2 separate regions of the Homo sapiens genome follow, and region 2 is linked to region 1. The links are contacts of gene promoters, found by promoter capture Hi-C in blood cells and fetal thymus (Javierre and others, 2016). All regions are on one chromosome and are shown on one strand. The core of a region is centred on a gene start or on the middle of the fragment in contact, and the rest is flanking DNA. Distances in the headings are between cores, read along the strand shown.

Region 1 (2,957 bases), core at 165-2,664:
GGGGCTCATGAGCTCTCCTGTCGACTGTTGGGCCATTCATTTGCTCATTTGTTTATGTGACAAGGATGAGGACCTACTTGGTGCAGAGAAGACAGGCCCAGTAAGAGGAGGGCTGGCTTGAAACAACTGCAGGTCCTTGAGAGACCAGAGGTGCTCGGGAGGTGGTGAGGAGCAGGTTGGGAGCCTTGTTGCAGGAGATGAGTGAGCCAGGGGAAGGCAGAGCGGCAGTGTCAGTGAGGCACACAGGGGAGGAGCAGACTCTCCCATCCCCTGCCGTGGCCCTTCAGTGGCCTCCTATCGCTGGGGAGAAAATCCACACTCATACCCAAGGATGGCCTGGCCGGCTTCATCTCCTCCTAGTTGCTGGGTGTGCCACCCGCCAACTCCTGCAGTTCCAGGAATGGGCAGGGCTCCCTCCCTACCAGCTCCTCAGGCACATTTTGTGGGCAGGGTTTATGGGAAAATGTCGGGGAGGAGGGCAGGGGGTTACTACAGGCTACTGTATCTGTCCCAAATCAGGGTCAGGTTCTACCTGAAGATAGTAGTGTTAGCTCTGAGTTCATTCCAGACCCGTTTATTTGATTCTAGAAACAGTTCCTATCAAAACCTGCTCTTTTTTTTTTTTTTGAGACTGAGTCTTGCTCTGTCGCCCAGGCTGGGGTGCAGCGGCGCGATCTCGGCTCTCTGCAACCTCCGCTTCCTGGGTTCAAGCGATTCTCCTGCCTCAGCCTCCCGAGTAGCTGGAACTACAGGAGGCACCACCCCGGGCCAATTTTTGTATTTTTTAGTAGAGACCGGGTTTCGCCATGTTGGCCACACTGGTCTCGAACTCCTGACCTCAGGTGATCCACCCGCCTCGGCCTCCCAAAGTGCTGGAAGTACAGGCAAAAACTGCTTTTGAAACGCGTCCTAGCGTTTCTGGACAGCACCGGCCAGGAAGTCAGGAGGCTTGGTGCTGCTCCTGCGCCTGCCCTCGCCCCAAGTCCTGGGCTTCGGGATCCCCATGGCAACCCCAGGTCCCGCTGGCTGTGAGGCTGCGGCCGGAACCCGGTCTTCCCGGCTAGGAGCCCGCGGGGGGCGACCCCCTGCAGGGCTTGGCCTGCTGCGGGAGGAGGGCTCGGGGAAGGGTGCGAGCCGAGCCCGAGGCGCACGGCGAGTCCTGTGGGAGTGGGGGACGCGGGGGCGGCCCTGGCTCCGCCGCGGCACCTGGACCTCTACTTTCCGAGGTGAGCATTTGGGGGTCGAGGGCGTAGAGCGATCGCACCCTGAATGGAGCCCAGGGCAGCCAGCGACCTGTCCCGTGGCCCGCAGTCGTTACCGTTCCGGGGCGGCCGCCTAGGCGGGTCCCGACGCGGCCCGCGGGAGCTCGGGGTGCCCTCGCCCGCCGCTGCCATCTTGCCGCCGAGGGTTCTCTTAGCGACCAGCAACGCCCGCTTCCATTGGTCTTTGTCGCAAGGGGGGGTGTGGCCACGGGCCTAGTCCCTGAGCCCGCGCAATCTCTGGAGCGAAGCTAGCCGGGCCCGGAGCCAGAGGACGCAGCTGCGCCTGTGCGCGTTTCCGCCGCTGTCGTCTCTTCCGCCGGGAGGCCCGCCCGCCAACGGCCTGCGCGTCTGCGCCGGAAGCGGAAATGGTTGGAGCCCTTGGCCCCGCCCTCGCGCCATCTTGGGGGCCCTGGAGGCGGCGCCGCGGAGGACGGAGCGGAAGTGCTCGCTGCAGCTTCCCGGAGCCGGAGCGCAGCGCCTGCGGCCGCCCGTGCCCCGCCGTCCTCCTTCCCGCGGCCGTGAGGGAGACCGCGGCTCGGCCGTAGCGGAGCTGCGAGGTGCCAGGAAGGGCTGCGTGGCGCGGGAACGGCCGGGCAGCGCCGCCTCCGCTTCTTCCGGGCTGTCAAGGCCGCGGGCGGGCGGGGCCGCGCTGAGGGCCGGGCGGGGAGGGCCGTCGGGGCCCGGGTGGCCGCGGGGACCGTGTTCCCGACCCGCGGCCCTGAGGGGTACGGGTCGCGCCTCGGGGTCGGGCCCGGGACGGGGTGCTGGGGGGTGCGGCGGAGCCCTGGGGCCTGCGAGGGTCGGGGGAGCGGGAGAGGGGCCGGGCGGGGGCTGCAGCCCTCGAGCCACCCGGGCCGCATCTCGTCCGCATCCCCTGCTTGGCATCTGGGGGAAGCGGGCAGTCGCGGCCCCCACAGCGCTGCGAGTTGGGCTGTATTCCAGAGTAATGTGCCCTGTCCCCATCCTGCGTCCAGGTCAGCGCTTATCTGTAGGATTTAGTGTTAAGCTCTGGGGTGAAGGCGTTACTGACGGGCTGAAGGGAAACTAGTTACATCGGTTTTGATCGTATTCTAAATAGGCAATAAAATCATAAATTCTCCAGGCTGACTTAGTACTGGTCTGTGGCCCCACTGATAAAGGTATCGTTCGTTTCTCTGCCAGGTGTCTCACAGCACAGAGGGCTGCTTTCAGCCTAAGTACCTTCAGTGGGCTTTTGCCCTTTTCCCTTTATGAAGAGTAGAGACTGGCCGCTAGTCCTGGAAGCACTTTATTTTTAGTTGAGTTGACATTTCCCAGGAAGATGCAGTTATCCCCGTAAGTGGATAAAGGGTTCTCAGTAATTCAGACTCTCACATGGCTTCTGCCGTATGCCTGAGGTGACGGCGACGGCGGTAACAGTGTGTCAGAGCCAGGTGGAGATATAAGATGGTCAGGCCCAGAGGAGCGGGGAGCCCAGGCTGGAATGTGGCCTTGGGAAGGAGGAAGAGACGGGGTCTGGGAGGGCATTTCAGAGGACTGAACAACACCAGAGGCGTGAAGCTTGGTGCACGGCAGCCGGGGGCTTTCTTAGTCCCGGAGGAATTGGGGATGGGGACGTGAAGAGAAAGGTGGGAGCCAGACTGTCAATGCTCCCGGACGCCAGGCAGAGGACTTCATCCTTTCCACGTGCAGAGTGATGGACCACAGATGTGGATG
Region 2 (2,957 bases), core at 308-2,807, 1.0 Mb after region 1:
GTGTGCTTCCATCATCTCCCCAGGCTCCATCCTGCCTTCTGTGTGAAGCTGGAGCGTGCAAGGGAGGCACAGTTGTGCTTCCATCGGGGGCTGCACGCGGCCCGTGCATGTCCTTTCTTTTTTAGTTGTATTTTTACGGCTGGGTTTCAAAATCTCTTCTTTCTTCCTCTTCCCTCACTTTTACAGTCACCAAAAGCAGATCCCCCTGTAGTGGCTGCAGGAGACCTCACTGGATCCTAGGAAGGATGCCGCTGCCCAGTGCTCAGGGGCTCGGGGGCCCTGGCCACCCCCCCTGACCTGCCCATACTCTGTTGTTCCCCTGCCAATGGCTTCTCTGGGAGTGCAGCAGGCACGGTCACAGCAAGGTCCTCTCAAGGCCCTCCGCATTGCACCAGGGCCAGGCTACCCTGCACGTTCTCCTTCCTTTTGGAGCTCACGGGCGTGTTATTTTACGCAGTGAGACCATCAATTTCACTGGCCGCTTGTCAGCTTATTTACAACGCAGACCCCAGCTGCTCGGAGAACTCTGCTCCCTCGCAGCCCTGGGCTCACGGCTCCCCTAAATTTCAAATGGACTTCTCTGTCTGGGCCATTTATTTAGATTAGAAGCAAGAGAGGGCCACGTTCAGGGCTCTCTGCAACCAAATTGAACGCACAGCCCTGTTCGTGGCTCTCCCCGGCCCCAGAGCTTCACACAAGGGACTTGCTCTCCAGTTTTATGAACAAGCTTCTTTTCCAATCCCATTTCTTACCTCGGATCCACAATTGCTAGGGTTTATGCAAGAGCCATTAGGTGGACTTTCTGCAAAAGTCTCTGCATTTCCAAAGAAACCAGGAACTGAATGAGCCGTGTTTGAGCACACATGCAGACAGACAGGCAGACACACAGGCAGGCGGACAGACAGGAAGATAGGCAGGCAAACAGACAGGAAGACAGACAGGCAGGCAGACAGACAGGCAGGCGGACAGACAGGAAGACAGACAGGCAGGCGGACAGACAGGCAGACAGACAGACAGGCAAACAGGCAGGAAGGCAGACAGACAGGTAGATGGACAGATGGATGGACAGACAGGCAGACAGACAGGCAGGGCAGACAAGCAGGAAGGAAGATAGGCAGGTGGACAGACAGATGGACAGACAGGCAGGCAGACAGGCAGACAGACAGGCAGGGCAGACAGGCAGGAAGGCAGATAGATAGATAGGTAGGCAGACAGACAGATGGACAGACAGGCAGACAGACAGGCAGGGCAGACAGGCAAGAAGGCAGACAGACAGGCAGGTGGACAGACAGATGGACAGACAGGCAGGCAGACAGACAGGCAGACAGACAAGCAGATGGACAGGCAGGAAGGCAGATAGACAGACTGGCAAGCAGGCAGACTGGCAGGCAGACAGACAGTCAGGCAGGCAGACAGATTGGGCTGCCTCAACATGCCAGAGGGGCACATGGCCCCAGCTGGGTGGGAAGCCTCTGGCTGGGCAGAGCCTGAATGCTCAGACTGGCAGGTGCTTTGCATCCGGGCTGGAGACGCAGAGTCCAGTGTGTCCTTTCTCAGCAGTCAGTCAGCCTCAAAAGCATGGCGGTCCCAGGGCCAGGCACCACCATTCCAGTCTAAGGATGTGTCAGGGTGGGGGATGTGAGAAAATGCATTGGAGGGTGTAAAATCCCTCCTTTCTGGGAGATTGTGTGGGACACGTCGGGTAGGGGGGCACCCAAGCATCTCCAACCCTGCTGCCGAAAGGGCTCCATCCTCGGCCTTATTCTTGTGTGAGTTCACAGGCCGAGTCAAACAAAACTGCAGCGCCGCCCAGGGCAGGCTTTGTGGATGGCCAGTCCAAGCCAGGGCGCTGCCTGTCACTGGGCTGTGGGAGGAGACGCTGGGACCCGGGTGCCCGGAGGCAGCTCAGCTGACCCGGGCAGGAGCAGGGGCTCCCAGAGAAGAAGCCCACAGGCCAGGCCCCTGGGATCAGGAGCAGAGAAGGCTGAGGGTCACTTCGGGGAGCTCAGGGACTTCGATCACCAATGCTTCTTTTCCTGTCTACTGTTGAAGAGGCCAGAGTGAGCCTGGCCTCCGGCAAAGGTTGGAAGGTTCAGGAATTGAGTGGATGAAGCCTTAGGGCAGCACCAGGGAAGTTTGCTGGGACGAAGTGGGATGGGGATATGCCTCGGCCAGGCGTGGGAGAGGAGTGCCCTTCTCCCAGGACTGCCTCCCGTTCTCTAGGGGACCCATTTTCAGACTTGCTAGGTTTTACCAGGCAGCCTGGGGAGTTGGGGGAGACTCGCAGGCTCTGAGATTCCAAGGACAGTTTCTCACGGCCGCAGCCCCTGCACGTGGGGAATGCTGAGCTCCTGGGCCCGGCAGCAGCACCCGGAAGGTGTGGGACTGAAGCTTCCTGCCTTGGGGAGGCCCCTGCGGGTGTGTTGATGGCAGGTCAGACTCCCTCGCCAGGCTTTTGTGATAGCAAACACCAGCCCAGGCCCCTCCTGTACAGGGCAGCACCGTGCCGAGAAGGCCGAGCCACACAGCCCCTCCCGGTCTGGGAGGCCAGGACTCCCGAGTGTCACCAGGCACGTCCCCATCCATGTGACAAGGGCATGTGACCAGTATGCTGCTCTGGAGCGGGCCACCGGCACCGGTCGGGGCGGGGTGGGGCCTCTCGGAGTCCTGTCCTCTGTGGGAACGAAGGCCACTGTGCTTAGAACAGCCACACCCACTCCGGGTGAACAAACCCTGCCCCATCCTGGTGCCTCCACAGAGGCTCCCACAGAGGCCCTGGCCTGGTCTCCAGCTGCTACCAGGCCCCCCCGGCCAGGATCCTGCTGCAGTGGGTAGACTTTCTGTGTGCTGTGCCATGGGCATCATGGAGCTTGCTTTGTTTTCAAAATATGAAAACGCATGATCATATAAACAGAATGTTCAAGTGCGTGTGTGCCTGTGGGATCAGATGAGCACCG

Evidence for each region. The method cuts DNA at HindIII sites, captures the fragments that hold promoters and counts their contacts. A CHiCAGO score of 5 or more calls a contact.
Region 2: a contact is called between a fragment that was not itself captured here and the fragment with the promoter of MORN1 in region 1, in 2 of 17 cell types (endothelial precursors and naive B cells). The highest score is 12.4, in endothelial precursors.

The regions. Positions count from the first base shown.
Region 1 is chr1:2,390,140-2,393,096 of GRCh38, forward strand. It overlaps MORN1 (MORN repeat containing 1), which reads right to left and starts at 1,415. Exons shown (of 14, transcript NM_024848.3): 1 at 1,319-1,415. The coding sequence starts at 1,394. RER1 (retention in endoplasmic reticulum sorting receptor 1) reads left to right here and starts at 1,702. Exons shown (of 7, transcript NM_007033.5): 1 at 1,702-1,819. RefSeq lists silencers at 988-1,117, 1,278-1,347, 1,478-1,587, 1,688-1,987 and enhancers at 1,411-1,705, 1,574-2,446. The HindIII fragment of the contact is 4,806 bases long and covers 1-2,799 here.
Region 2 is chr1:3,420,987-3,423,943 of GRCh38, forward strand. The region is part of intron 12 of PRDM16 (PR/SET domain 16); the gene reads left to right. Among named protein-coding and RNA genes, the nearest start is that of ARHGEF16, 32 kb to the right of the region's middle. RefSeq lists an enhancer at 1-178. The HindIII fragment of the contact is 1,664 bases long and covers 726-2,389 here.